Linked DNA regions of Homo sapiens: region 1 is linked to region 2. The links are contacts of gene promoters, found by promoter capture Hi-C in blood cells and fetal thymus (Javierre and others, 2016). All regions are on one chromosome and are shown on one strand. Each heading gives the region's core, a stretch centred on a gene start or on the middle of the fragment in contact. The rest is flanking DNA. Distances are from core to core; before and after follow the strand shown. Region 1 overlaps SPIRE2 (spire type actin nucleation factor 2). Region 2 holds the start of VPS9D1 (VPS9 domain containing 1).

Region 1 (7,283 bases), core at 4,784-7,283, 130 kb after region 2:
CTCTTGAAGCTGCTGGAGGAGCTGCAGGCAGCAAATGTCCCACAGACATCCCTCTTCCAAATGAAACCTGTCATCTTTTTTTTTTTTTTTTTTTTTTGAGACGGAGTCTCGCTCTGTCGTCCAGGCTGGAGTGCAGTGGCGCGATCTCGGCTCACTGCAAGCTCCACCTCCCGGGTTCACATCATTCTCCTGTCTCAGCCTCCCGAATAACTGGGACTACAGGCGCCCGCCACCAGGCCTGGCTAATTTTTTAGATTTTTAGTAGAGACGGGGTTTCACCGTGTTAGCCAGGATGGTTTCGATCTCCTGACCTTGGGATCCGCCCGCCTCGGCCTCCCAAAGTGCTGGATTACAGGCATGAGCCACCATGTCTGGCCCAAATCCTTTCAAAGTTATATTTTAATGTTACCGTAATGTTTCTCTCAAAAGTTGGAGATGGTTTGCATAAAAATAAAAAGTTTTCAAATTTTTTTTTTTTTTTTTTTGAGATGGAGTCACTCTGTCGCCCAGGCTGGAGTGCAATGGCGCAATCTCGGCTCACTGCAAACTCCGCCTCCCAGGTTCACGCCATTCTCCTGCCTCAGCCTCCCGAGTAGCTGGGACTACAGGTGCCCGCCACCACGCCCAGCTTATTTTTTTGTATTTTTTAGTAGAGACGGGGTTTCACCGTGTTAGCCAGGATGGTCTCGATCTCCTGACCTCATGATCCGCCTGCCTCGGCCTCCCAAAGTGCTGGGATTACAGGCGTGAGCCACCGCGCCCAGCTGAAACCTGTCATCTTTTACAAGCACACACAGGATTGTTTCAAAGAAGACTCCCTAGCATCTTTGTTCTAGTCATTTGTTATTTTACACAAAAGAAATCTGAGTCAGGTGCAGTAGCTCACACCTGTACTCCCAGCACTTTGGGAGGCTGAGGCGGGAGGATCGCTTGAGCCCAGGAAGTCATGGCTGCAGTGAGCCATGATTACACCACTGCACTCCAGCCTGGGTGACAGAGCAACACCTTGTTTCAAAAAAAAAAAAAAAGGAAAAAGAAACTCAGGTGGCTTTTCTTCTCTCATTGAGGCTGTGCTTCCCTGCAGGGAGAAATAGGCTCTTAACTCTTAGTGGTGGATGGAAACGAGGGGTCCTGGTTCTGCCTCCCACCTTAGCATGGCACTAATAGACTTGATGAGAATCTGGGGTCCTTACTGCCTCCGTCTGCTCTACCCTGGAGAGAATTTTTTAGATAAGCAAAAGGTGGTTTGCATAACCCCATGTGGCCACGTTGGTGACGTGGTTGTGGTAGCTCTGTGGCCACGTTGGTGACGTGGTTGTGGTAGCTCTGTATGCACTTATACCTGGGTGTTCGGCTGGGTTGCTTGCTGTGGTCTGGCCATGCTCGGTGGCCCAGCTGCCCCATTTATTAGGGGTATGGTCTTGGGTAAGTTTCTCAACCTGCCTGAGCCTCGATTTCCTCATCTGTAACGAGGAAATTATGGCACCAACCTTTATGGGATGGCTGCGCAGATAGAGGCCACGGTAAATAATTTTTTTTTTTTTGAGATGGAGTTTTGCTTTTGTTACCCAGGCTGGAGTGCAGTGGCACGATCTCGGCTCACCGCAACCTCCACCTCCCAGGTTCAAGCCGTTCTCTTGCCTCAGCCTCCCAAGTAGCTGGGATTACAGGCGTGTTCCTCCCGAGTAGCTGGGATTACAGGCATGCGCCACCATGCCCGGCTAATTTTGTATTTTTAGGAGAGGTGGGGTTTCTCCCTGTTGGTCAGGCTGGTCTCCAACTCCTGACCTCAGGTGATCCGCCTACCTCAGCCTCCCAAAGTGCTGGGATTACAGGCGTGAGCCACCGCACCCCACAGTAAATAATTTTTTAACATCTAGTTTTATAACATCTGAGTTTTATAACATCCTGGGCTCGGGCTCTGACTGCAAAGGCCTCTGTCGGCCCCCAAGTCTCCCCCAGATAATCTCTCATCTCAGAACCCAGAGACACCCCAAGTCTTTGCAGCTTAAATACAATTAGATTCATGAACACGTAATTTTTTTTTTTTTTTTTTTTTTGTGACGGAGTCTCACTCTGTTGCCCAGGCTGGAGTGCAGTGGCACCATCTTGACTCACTGCAACCTCCACCTCCTGGGTTCAAGCGATTCTCCTCTCTCAGCCTCCCAAGTAGCTGGGATTACAGGCATGTGCCACCATGCCCAGCTAATTTTTGTATTTTTAGTAGAAACGGGGTTTTGCCATGTTGGCCAGACTGGTCTTGAACTCCTGACCTCAGGTGATCCACCCACTTCGGCCTCCCGAAGTGCTGGGATTACAGGCGTGAGCCACCGTGCCCGGCCGTGAACATTTAATTTTGATACAACTTTTTTTGTTAACCTATGGAGTATTTGAGCCAGAGGCACAAACATTAAAATTATTCCAACCAGAAGCTTCCCATGCACTGAGGACCTCGCCTGATGTGGGCTTAGTCTGTGAAGGCACTGAAGGGCCAGCCGGCCACCAGTCAGCCCTTCCCCACAGGGCCCTGGTCTGTTCCAGGGAGCACCTTTGTTTGGGTCTGATGTCTTCCACCTTCCCATGGCCTCGGCCCAATCACAGCTGCAAACGTGCTGAACGCCCAGCGCGGGCCAGGACTGCCCAGGCCCTGGGGACCCACACCCCCACCGTGGGCCACACATTGTTCTATGAACTCCACTGATGCGGGGGTGGATTGCTTTCCATTATGTTAATGGAGCAGGCTCCCTTTATCTTTGGCAATCTTCCTGGTTCTTGATGGCATTTTGAAAATATTTGTGGAGTTAGCAGGTCCACTGAGCAGATGATTTCATGGCTTAGATATAGACGCATATATACATCTTACCTCATTCCAGAAAGAATTCCAGGCAGCTGGAGCTCTTGTTCTAGCACAGTCCCACCTGCATGCCCAGTTCAAGGAAGGCTGTAGAATCGGGTGGATGTTTTGCATCCCACCCAGCGCAGCATCTTGGGAACCCCGGGGGAGGAGGGTTGGGGAGCACAGACCCTGGGCCCCACGGCCTGGCCCCACTCCTGGCACTTATCAGCCCTGATACCTTGGAGCAAACAGATTCATCCTCCGGTCTCTGTTTCCTCATCTGTGAAACGGGAAGTGGAGCAACCAGCTCCAGCGTGAGCACCGGCAAAAGGCAGGTTCGCTCCCGGGCCTCCCTCAGGGCCAGGTTTCATCAATGAAATACGTGACTCCAGCTTCCACCTGCATTTCCACTCGGACTGTGGTTCTCTAAGAGGCATAAACAGTCTTGGGGGGACATCTCCAAATCGGTGGTCTCAGTCAGATGCCGACTTACCTGCTCTGCAAAGTCTGTCTCTCCCTCTGACCCGGGGTTTCTCATCTGACTGCTGTGATTTCAGTGTGCACAACCTCAGTCCCAGGCAGGTGGTGTGTCTCATCTCAGACCACAGGTTCTTTCCTGAAGATGTGCCTCGATGGATGGAGCTGCTGCCTTGCTGCCACGTTTTTTTTTTTTTGTTTGTTTTTGTTTTTTGTTTTTTTTTTTTTTTTTTTGAGACAGAGTCTCGCTTTGTTGCCCAGGCTGGAATGCAGTGGCGTGATCTCGGTTCACTGCAACCTCCACCCCTCAGGCTCAAGTGATCCTCCCACCTCAGTCTCCCGAGTAGCTAGGACTACATATATGCACTACCATGCCCAGCTATTTTTATGTATTTTTTGGAGAGATGAGGTTTCGATATGTGGCCCAGGCTGGTCTCAAACTCCTAATCTTAAGTGATCCACCCGCCGTGGCACCTCAAAGTGCTGAGATTACAGGCATGAGCTGCCGTGCCTGGCCTTTTTTTTTTTTTGAGACAGGGTCTCACTCTGTCGCCCAGGCTGGTGTGCACTGGTGCAATCTTGGCTCACTGCAGCCTCAACCTCCTGGGCTCAAGAGGTCCTCCCGAGTAGCAGGACTACAGGCACCTGCCACCACGCCTGGCTAATTTTTTTATTTTTATTTTTATATATTTTTTGAGATGCAGTCACGCTCTGTTGCCCAAGCTGAAGTGCAGTGGCATGATCTTGGGTCAGCCTCCACCTGCAGCCTCCATCTCCTGGGTTCAAGCGATTCTCACGCCTCAGTCTCCTGAGTAGCTGGGATTACAGGTGCTCTCCACTATGCCTGGCTCATTTTTGTATTTTGTACTTTTAGTAGAGATAGGGTTTCATCATGTTGGTCAGGCTGGTCTTGAACTGCTAGCCTCAAGTGGTCCACCCACCTCAGCCTCCCAAAGTAATTTTTTTTTTTTTTGAGACAGAGTCTCACTCTGTTGCCCAGGCTGGAGTGCAGTGGTGCAATCTCGGCTCACTGCAAGCTCTGCCTCCTGGGTTCACGCCATTCTCCTGCATCACCCTCCCGAGTAGCTGGGACTACAGGTGCCCGCCACCACGCCTGGCTAATTTTTTGTATTTTTAGTACAGACGGGGTTTCACCGTGTTAGCCAGGATGGCCCCGATCTCCTGACGTTGTGATCCGCCTGCCTCAGCCTCCCAAAGTGCCGGGATTACAGGCGTGAGCCACCGCGCCTGGCCCTCCCAAAGTAATTTTAAAATTTTTTGTAGCCACAGGGGCTTACTATGTTGTCCAGGCTGGTTTTGAACTCCTGGCTGCTAGCAGCTCTCCCACCTCGGCATCTCAAAGTGCTGGGATTATAGGTGTGAGCCACCACATCTGGCCTCCTACTCCACCTGCCCCTCCTTCACTCTTACTCCCAGCCATGTTTCCCTAGGGGCAGCCTCCTGCAGTGCCCGGGACAGACTGTGGGACCTGTTGGCTGCTCTCCAGCCCTGACTCGCCTTTGAGTGGTCACCATGGAGGGGCTGCTGCGTGGGGCACTGGGGGTCTGTCCACAAGCTGACCATCATCCTTCTGCAAGTAGGGGTTGCCTTGCTCTCCCGGCCCCTGTACCTGGGTGTCCTGCTTAGAGCCAGCTCGAGCCGGGCCTCATGGGTGTTCGTCCAAATGACCAAGTGGCTGGGCCTGCTGTGAGCTTTCTGGTGTTCCGGCGGAGAGTGGGGCTGTGGTGTGTGTCCCCGAGGGGGAGGTGGGGGGACAGCAGTGTTTATTGGGGTCCCGGGGATGCTGACAAATAACTTAACTCCCTCTTCTCTTACAGAACCTGCAACCATGGTCGTGCCACTAGCCAGCTCGGAAGCCCAGGTACTTTTTAAAAAATTCCAAGTATTACTTGATGTGTGTTAAAACGTACCTGCATCTTAAAATGTAAATCATAAAACATATATAGTTACACAGTTGTTTCAGGGAGGCAGGGTGCAGATGAAGTACCCAACAGGCTTAGTTGCAGGGACTGGATGAAACGCTGTTCACAGAGAGCAGACGTGGAGGAGACCGCCGGGGTGGGGAGGGTCCCCGTGGTGCTTCCGGCCTGGAGGAGGCAGTGGTGTTACTTCCTTCCACAGCTGCACAGATGAGGGGCACAGCTGACGTCTGCAGGGCCGGCCTCCCAGACACAGAGCCGGGGTCAGGGAGACGACTTCAGGTGCAAACAGGAAAAATCAGCCTGGTGACCAGTGCCCCGAAACCCCACCCGACCAAAACTGGAACCTCACCGCAGGGCAGGGCCTTCCTCTCCCATTCACCTGCCCTGAAGTCATGTCTGGAACGTCATGTTTCCACTTTCTACTGCCTTTTTAGTTTTCTTTCTTTGTTTTTTTTGCTTTTGTTCATTTTATTTTATTTTATTGTTTTGAGATGGAGTCGCGCTCTGTCGCCCAGGCTGGAGTGCAGTGGTGTGATCTCGGCTTACTGCAAGCTCCGCCTCCCGGGTTCACACCTTTCTCCTGCCTCAGCCTCCCAAGTAGCTGGGACTACTGGTGCCCGCCACCACGCCCGGCTAATTTTTTTCTATTTTTAGTAGAGACGGGGTTTCACCGTGTTAGCCAGGATGGTCTTGATGTCCTGACCTTGTGATTCACCTGCCTCGGCCTCCCAAAGTGCTGGGATTACAGGAGTGAGCCACCGCGCCCGGCCTTATTTTATTTTTTAATAGAGATGTCTCACTATGTTGCCCGGACTAGTCTCAAACTCCTGGGCTCAAGCCATCCTCCCACTTGGCCTCCCAAAGTGCTGGGATTACAGTTCTGAGCCACTGTGCCTGGCCTCTTTTTTTTTTTGAGATAGAATCTCCCTCTGTCACCCAGGTTGGACTGCAGTGGTGCGATCTCAGCTCACTGCAACCTCGGCTAGTTGCAGCGCAACCTCCGTCTCCTGGGTTCAAGCAATTCTCCTGCCTCAGCCTCCCGAGTAGCTGAGATTACAGGCGCATGCCACCACGCCTGGCTAATTTTTGTGTTTTTTTTTGTTTTTGAGACAGAGTCTCTCTCTGTCACCAGGCTGGAGTGCAGTGGCGTGATCTTGGCTCACTGCAACCTCCGCCTCCCGGGTTCACGCCATTCTCCTGGCCAGCCTCTCAAGTAGCTGGGACTACAGGCGCCCGCCACCATGCCCGGCTAATTTTTGTATTTTTAGTAGAAGTGGGGTTTCACCATGTTGGCCAGGATGGTCTCAAACTCCTGACCTCATGATTCACCCACCTCAGCCTCCCAAACTGCTGGGATTACAGGTGTGAGCCATCACGCCCAGCCTTTTTTTTTTTTTTTTTAGATCTACCCTCTTGTTGCCCAGGGGGAGTCCAGTGGCGTGATCTTGGCTCACTGCAACCGCCGCCTCCCGGGTTCAAGCAATTCTCCTGCCTCAGTCTCCCGAGTGTCTTCTGTCTTTTGTAAAAGTTTTTCATGCCCAAGTGAGATTAATTGTTTAAAAAAAAAAAAACAAGAAGAAAACAACATAGATTTACCGCAAGACCTATTGATATATTATTAAACATGGTGGTATACCCAGGGTGGGTGTGACACAGACCAAAAGAGGCTGTGTGTTCTGTTGTTGATAATTTAAAAACAATAATAAAACCGAAGTCTATGTCACCACAAACAGCACTTAACAATTCAGTGATAAGGCACCTGCCACCGTGGAGAACCTCGGGGCGGGGATGTTTAGACTGCATGCGCTCAGGTTGCCTGGCAGCTCTGTGTGTGGAGATGCCATTGTGCTATACGTAGTGTCCTGGGACGTGAGTGGGGGCCTGTCTGTGTGGCTGTGTCCGGTTGTCGTGTGTCTCACTGTTGCGTTGTACACGGGACAGTTTACCTTTCTGAAGTCCAGGACTCCAGGGCTGGGAGGCCGGCTGGCCCTGCTGTCCCGAGTCTCCAAACAGAGCAGCTGCTGCCT
Region 2 (7,126 bases), core at 3,065-5,564:
GGGAGCAGCTGCAGGCATGGTTGGCTTCAGGCGTGTTTTCCCTGCAAGCCATGGGTAACCAGGGGTCAAGCGGTGGGCCACATCCCACAGAGGAGATGCGGGCTTGGGGGATGCCCCAGGAGAGCCGCCTACTGCAGGAGACCCACCAAGCTTGGCGGCCGTCGACTGGGCCCTCTCCAGACACTGCTGTGCTAGCTTCAGCATCTTGGAGGTGTCGGGGGGCACAGTTTCCCCAGCTTCTGGGGGAGGGACAAGAAGGCTGGTCACAGTCGGCTCTACCACTGTTACTTACTGCTGAGATAAAATGAGGCAACGGAAAAGGCAGGCAAGCCCACTGCCCCCCTCAGCACCCCCACTGACCCCGGGCAAGCCCACTGCCCCCCCATCCCCTCACTGACCCTGGGCAAGCCCACTGCCCCCCCATCCCCTCACCCCGGGTAAGCCCACTGCCCCTCCCGTCCCCCAACTGACTGACCCTAGGCAAGCCCACTGCCCCCCCATCCCCTCACCCCGGGTAAGCCCACTGCCCCTTCCACCCCCCACTGACCCCGGGCAAGCCGACTATTCCTCATGGACCCCAGGCAAGGCCCCTGCCCCCACCATGGACCCCAGGCAAGTCCCCCCACCCACGCATTTCTAATCATCTGCCCTGGTTTTGCCTCCTGAGTCTGCTAAGGCTGTGGGCCCCTCATCGAGGCCCGTCACAGCCTCGACCCTAAACAGGCCTTTAGTGCTCACTCAGCTTCACTTGCAACTGCAGGCCTCTGGGAAGTGGCCGTTTTACAGAGACAAGGACGTGCTGAGGGGATCGCCTCACCCATCTCCCACCGGCTGTGTCCCCAAAGTCCTGCCTTCCCGTAGCTTGGCATGGAGCACCTCTGCGCGACCATGGACCTGCTCACACAGCCCTTCTGCGCGCCGTGGGAGCTGCCTCTCTGTGACTCGCCCCTGGACCCACCGCCCCAGCGCCTGACCCACCTCCCTGCTGCCCTTCACAGAAAACTTCTCATAGACTCCCATTTTCTCATCCCGCCCCGATTTAGCCCCCGACTCCCCCCGGAAACTGCCCTTACCCGTCCCCACCTTGCCAGACACGGTGGGCCACTGGAGTTCCTCTGTCTTCTGGGACTTTGCTCTCCCCAGGGGATCCTCTGCCACTCCTCCACCCAACTCCTCAATCTTGGAGCGCCAGAGCTCAGCCGAGCTCACCGGCTCCCTAGGGAGCTGGGGCAACTGTTAGCTCCCCCTGACCTGTGTGATCCTACGTCCAGTGGCTGCCCCGACCTCTGTGATCCCACGTCCAGGGGCTCCCCCGACCTCTGTGATCCCACGTCCAGTGGCTCCCCCGACCTCTGTGCTCCCACGTCCAGTGGCTCCCCCGACCTCTGTGCTCCCACGTCCAGTGGCTCCCCCGACCTCTGTGCTCCCACGTCCAGTGGGTCCCCCTGACCTCTGTGATCCCACGTCCAGTGGCTCCCCCTGACCTCTGTGCTCTATGTCCAGTGGCTCCCCCTGACCTCTGTGATCCTTTGTGCAGCGGCTGCTGGCCTCTCAAACTTAATGTGTTCATTGCGGAACTTGCTATTCCTCTCCTTGCCAGTTTGCTCCTGCCCCATCTGCCTCCTGCAAGTCTGCTCTGTTCCACCTTCAGGACGCACCCCGAGGCCGTTTACTGCTCCCATCCTGGGTGGTCTGGCCACTGCCATCCTCAGTCCTCACCTGAGGCTCCACTCCCAGGCTGTCCTCTCCCTCAAAGCTCAAAGTCTCTTCAAGTTTCCCTGCACACCAGAACGGCCCCAGTTCCACCCAAGGCATGCACACAGCCCCACCCCGCCCACTCCTATTTCAGGGCCTTTGCACACCCCACAGCTGGAATGCTGCCCCACGTCTGTGCCGCTCACTGGAGCCAGTGTCTTGCCACACCCCAGTCTCCATCTTCTTATCCACAACGCTGGTCCCTTCCTGCCACTATATCACACTGAGTGTGGGCTGGTCCACCTACTACAAATGGTCAGGCTAGAAGGATACAAGAGACCCCCGCCGAAGCCTGGCACCCATCAAGGGCTAGGATGCCCACAATTTGTCCAGCATGGAGGAAGCAGCAGGGCTCAGCCATGCCTTTTTCTTTTTCTTTTCTTTTTTTTTTTTTTGAGACGGAGTTTCGCTCTTGTTCCAGGCTGGAGTACAATGGGGTGATCTCGGCTCACTGCAACCTCTGCTCCCGGGTTCAAGCAATTCTCCTGCCTCAGCCTCCCGAGTAGCTGGGACTACAGACACCCGCCACCAGGCCCAGCTGATTTTTTAGATTTTTAGTAGAGACGGGGTTTCACCATGTTAGCCAGGATGGTTTCGATCTCCTGACCTCAGGTGATAGCCCGCCTCTGCCTCCCACAGTGCTGGGATTACAGGCGTGAGCCACCGCGCCCGGCTGGCTGAGCCGTACCTTTAGTGGTTTCCACTTCTTCTAGTAACACCTGGGAGATATAGTGGATGCTCCTCAGGTATTCCGTGTATGCCTCCTGTGTCCAGGAAAGAGAAAGAGTGGGGTCAGGCCAGTGGAGGGAAGTGACTCCATTATTCCGGCCAGGTGCCCTTGTGGGATAAGCAAGGAACACCACCACCTGCTTATCTCTGAGATACACCCAGAGACATTGAGCCTGCGGTGGTTAGCTGCAGCCGGAACACGGTTTTCTGCGCAGGGCACAGGCAGCATCGCTGCTCTCCAGACTTGGAAAAGACATCAGGACCTGAGAGAGAGAGAGAGCCAGGGACGAGCTGGACCTCATTTTCTCCTCTGACTGCCTTTCTCTCCAGCACAGGAACTGATATTCTCATTCAGTGGGCCTGGGGAAGTGACCTCAGCAGTTTGCTGTCATTTTTCATTCTATGCAATGTTTCCTTCTTGTGCAACTCAAGGGTGATTCATTCAGTGGCTTAAAAAAATACTTTTCTGAGAGGATAAAGGGAGTGATACTGGAAGTTTTCAAATCACTTCCCGGTTTAAGTTCCGAGAAATCCCTTTCCCAGAACCTGCGAGTTACGTATTTCCAGTGCACACAGGAGCCTAGAACTGTTACCTTTCAAGGCTGTGTGACCCCTCTGACAAGGCACAGGTCATTGGAACCACAGAATGGTGGTTTGTTTTGTTTTGTTGAGACAGAGTCTCACTCTGTCGCCCAGGCTGGAGTGCAGTGGCAGGATCTCGAGTCACTGCAACCTCCGCCTCCTGGGTTCAAGTGATTCTCATCCCTCAGCCTCCCAAGGAGCTAGGATTACAGGTGTGCACCGCCACACCCAGCTAATTTTTGTATTTTTAGTAGAGACGGGGTTTCACCACGTTGGCCAGGCTGGTCTCAAACTCCTCACCTCAGGTGATCCACCGCCTGGGCCTCCCAAAGTGTCAGGATTACAGGCGTGAACCACAGCGCCCAGCAATATGCTATGTTTTTTTGTTTTATCCCTAGCTGTTAAGTTTCCTATCTTTAAGTCTATGCCTCAGAGAGAAAGACGAAATATAATCCAGGCAGGATTTCTGACTTGCGGGGGCACCTGCTGCCCTAAAAACCAACTTGGGGAAAGCAGCAGATTCAGGAACGAGGCTTCTCCTAGGCACAGGCAGGCTCCTTCCCTCCTTGGGCAGCCGGGTGTGGCTGGGCCAGCTTCTCTACCTGGTCGCCAACCTTAGATTCGGCCCCATCTCAGGAACGGGCCACACCCCTCCGGCCTGCTTTTCCTTCCTAAGACGACTGCAAACAGCATCACAAATGAGCAGGTATGTGGCCTTCTCTGCATGCCGTCCCCTGTGGCAACCGGATTAAATCTACCATCTCTGCCCAGAAAAATGCACGAACGCACGGACCTGCCCGTCACTCGGATTTTGGAAGGTGGCCTGGCGGACCCTCCTGCTACATCTCCTCTACAGGTGGAGCCCAGGCTGTGATGCACCGGCTCAGCGAGCGGAGTGGAAAGCCAAGGTCCGCAGGATCTGAGCTGTCCAAGGTCACTGCACGCCCGGCTGCGCCCCGCCCCCGTCCTCGCCCGGGAACCGCGGCCCGGGATCCCGGCTGGCGCCCGCTCCCAAGTCTCCAGCCCGAGCCGGCCCCGTCCTCGCCCTCCCCGGGCGGGGGTCCCTCCAGGGGCCACCCTCAGCGGCCAAGCCCCGCCCCCGCCCCGCCTCACCCGGGGCCGGTTGCCGGTGTCCAGCTCGATGGCCCCGTTGGCAAGCTTCATGGCGCTCTGCAGCGGCTTCACCGTGCCGTCCCCGGCCGCAGCGGCCATGGCGCCGAGCGGGGGAGGCGGCGGCGGTAGCCGAGGGGCTGGACGGGCGACCGGAGGCCCGGAACGCAGCCGGCGCTGGTGCTGGAGCCGCCCGAGCAGCGGACCGCAGGAAGGGACGCGGCCGCACTTCCGGCGACGGGCCCCCTCCGCGCGTACTGCGGGCCCCACGGGTGTTAGTGGCGGGGGCGGCAGAGTCCGGGTGGGTTGTCGCGACGGAGCCGGGCCTCTTCGCCGTCTTGAGACGGGGCTGGCGAGAAGGGCCCCTCACGGAGTTGCCATGGGCGTCTAACCGCGGCAGCCAGGCCCCTCTCTACGTGAGACCCCGGCCCCCCTCCCCTTTCTGCAGCCCGCCCGCCACCTGCGCGCCGCGTGGCCTCCGCCGGCGCCTGCCCGCCCCGCGCCTCCGTCTCCCACGGTAAGAGGCGGTGAGGGCCGCGTCGCCTCTCCCTGGAGGACTCGTCGTGAGGTGTCGGCGAGCCCCTCCGCCCACCGCCCCGCCCCAGGCCAGCGCTCCATTGGCGACAGAGGCGGGCACGGCCGCCCTCGGGCCCGAGAGGGGAGCGGTACGAGCGGGGGCGCTGGCACCGCGGGTGGAACCTCGGCCGGCGGGGTCCCGCCCCTGGCCCCTGGCCCGCCCCGCCCGCCTCGCTTTGCTTCTCGCTCCGCCCCTCCCCCGCCCCGCCTCGCTTCCAGCGCGCCGAGCGGAGCCTAACGCCGGGTCCTCTAGGAACCTCGGGCCGGGCAGCACCCGCGGGATTCTGCTGGCGTCCTCCGCTGCCATGAAGCGGGACCGGCTGGGCCGCTTCCTGTCTCCTGGGTCGTCCCGACAGTGCGGGGCCTCGGACGGCGGCGGCGGCGTCAGCCGGACTCGGGGCCGCCCTTCCCTTAGCGGTGGGCCGAGGGTGGACGGGGCGACGGCGCGGCGCGCCTGGGGCCCGGTGGGGTCCTGCGGGGACGCGGGCGAGGACGGCGCGGACGAGGCAGGTGGGTCCGCGGCCCGGGCGTGGCGGGTTGGGGTCGCGGCAGGGGTTGCTCGTGGGAGGAGCCGCACTGACGCCCGGAAGCCGGCGCGGCCTCTCCTCCACCCGGCCAAGGGCGTAGCGGACTCGGGGCTGCGTCGGGATAGGCGCTGGGCGGCCGGCTCGGTTTTCCTCGCGCTCCGTGACGCCGGCGTCGCCGGCCCGGCCTCCCCGGCCGCGGGCTCGGCCAGAAGGGACCCGGCGTGAGGAGCGCTGTCACCGCGGGCAGGTCGCCCTGGGGTGCCCGCGCGTGGGAATCGCCCTCCCCTGCTTCGTGCCCTCGCGGAGCCGGAAAGGAGGCGGCACCTGCAATTGGCAGACAGGAAACCGCGGCGTTTCCTGGAGGGCGCAGCGCCTGCCCCGGGTCTCGCGGTCGCTGGGAGGAGGGTGCAGTTCCAGGTTTCACTCTTGAAGTTGCTTCGCTGGAGAGGCCTTAGAGGCCTTTGAAATTTGAAAGATTTCTTGGACCAGCGGCCACATCCCCCACAGGGCGGCTTGTCCCGCCGAGAGCCGCGCGCCCGAGCCGCTTGCTGTGTCCGGGAGCCGCGCGAAGGGCGCTGCAGGCGCTGCCCTCGGACCTGGAGTCCGGGACGCCCTGTGCTCAGGAGCCTCCTTTGCCAGCTGCTAACACTTCCTGCCGCTCTGTGCAGGAGCAGGCCGGGCTCTCGCCATGGGTCACTGTCGCCTCTGCCACGGGAAGTTTTCCTCGAGAAGCCTGCGCAGCATCTCCGAGAGGGCGCCTGGAGCGAGCATGGAGAGGCCATCCGCAGAGGAGCGCGTGCTCGTACGGGACTTCCAGCGCCTGCTTGGTGTGGCTGTCCGCCAGGACCCCACCTTGTCTCCGTTTGTCTGCAAGAGCTGCCACGCCCAGTTCTACCAGTGCCACAGCCTTCTCAAGTCCTTCCTGCAGAGGGTCAACGCCTCCCCGGCTGGTCGCCGGAAGCCTTGTGCAAAGTACGCCCTAGTCTGTTCAGAGCACGTTCAGGCTGTCAGTACTGCAGTGTGACGGGTGTTGAGAGAGGGACAGGGCGTGCCTCCGCGGGAGCCTCTGGGTGGGGGGAATGGGCCATGCCCGGGTTCAGTGCCAACAGCCCTGGGACTGTTGTGGAGAGATGAACTGGGAGGAGCTGGGGTGAGGGAAGAGAAAGTTGCCTATGGGGACCGCTGAGGTTTGAGATCTCGAGAGGGTCCCGTACGACGAGCGCTGTGAACCTCCGCCTGCTTGTCCTGCTCATGGCCACACTGATCCTTTGCAGGGTCGGTGCCCAGCCCCCAACAGGGGCAGAGGAGGGAGCGTGTCTGGGTGAGTCCTCCCCCGGTGGAGGGTGGGCTGGGTGCCGACCAGCCGTGGATCTGACATCTCTGTTGACTCTCTGCAGTGGATCTGATCACATCCAGCCCCCAGTGCCTGCACGGCTTGGTGGGGTGGGTGCATGGACATGCGGCCAGCTGCGGGGCCCTGCCCCACCTTCAGAGGACACTGTCCTCCGAGTACTGCGGCGTCATCCAGGTCGTGTGGGGCTGCGACCAGGGCCACGACTACACCATGGATACCAGCTCCAGCTGCAAGGCCTTCTTGCTGGACAGTGCGCTGGCAGTCAAGTGGCCATGGGACAAAGAGACGGCGCCACGGCTGCCCCAGCACCGAGGGTGGAACCCTGGGGATGCCCCTCAGACCTCCCAGGGTAGAGGGACAGGGACCCCAGTTGGGGCTGAGACCAAGACCCTGCCCAGCACGGATGTGGCCCAGCCTCCTTCGGACAGCGACGCGGTGGGGCCCAGGTCGGGCTTCCCACCTCAGCCAAGCCTGCCCCTTTGCAGGGCCCCAG

The links. Contacts are between HindIII fragments. The CHiCAGO score rates a contact against its expected background, and 5 or more counts as called.
Region 1: a fragment that was not itself captured here is called in contact with the fragment with the promoter of VPS9D1 in region 2 in 2 of 17 cell types (M1 macrophages and endothelial precursors); the score reaches 6.0 in M1 macrophages.

The regions. Positions count from the first base shown.
Region 1 is chr16:89,840,171-89,847,453 of GRCh38, forward strand. It overlaps SPIRE2 (spire type actin nucleation factor 2), which reads left to right. Exons shown (of 15, transcript NM_032451.2): 2 at 5,152-5,195. Among named protein-coding and RNA genes, the nearest start is that of SPIRE2, 15 kb to the left of the region's middle. RefSeq lists enhancers at 6,758-6,902, 7,107-7,283 and a cis regulatory region at 6,829-6,830. The HindIII fragment of the contact is 7,206 bases long and covers 2,431-7,283 here.
Region 2 is chr16:89,716,584-89,723,709 of GRCh38, forward strand. VPS9D1 (VPS9 domain containing 1) reads right to left here and starts at 4,315. Exons shown (of 15, transcript NM_004913.3): 1 at 4,180-4,315; 2 at 2,444-2,519; 3 at 147-239; 4 at 1-41. The coding sequence starts at 4,278. ZNF276 (zinc finger protein 276) reads left to right here and starts at 4,954. Exons shown (of 11, transcript NM_001113525.2): 1 at 4,954-5,262; 2 at 5,948-6,251; 3 at 6,554-6,600; 4 at 6,677-7,126. The coding sequence starts at 5,058. It overlaps VPS9D1-AS1 (VPS9D1 antisense RNA 1), which reads left to right. Exons shown (of 4, transcript NR_036480.1): 3 at 1-321; 4 at 761-1,582. RefSeq lists an enhancer at 2,527-2,696, a cis regulatory region at 2,612 and silencers at 3,922-5,041, 5,122-5,581. The HindIII fragment of the contact is 11,777 bases long and covers 4,223-7,126 here.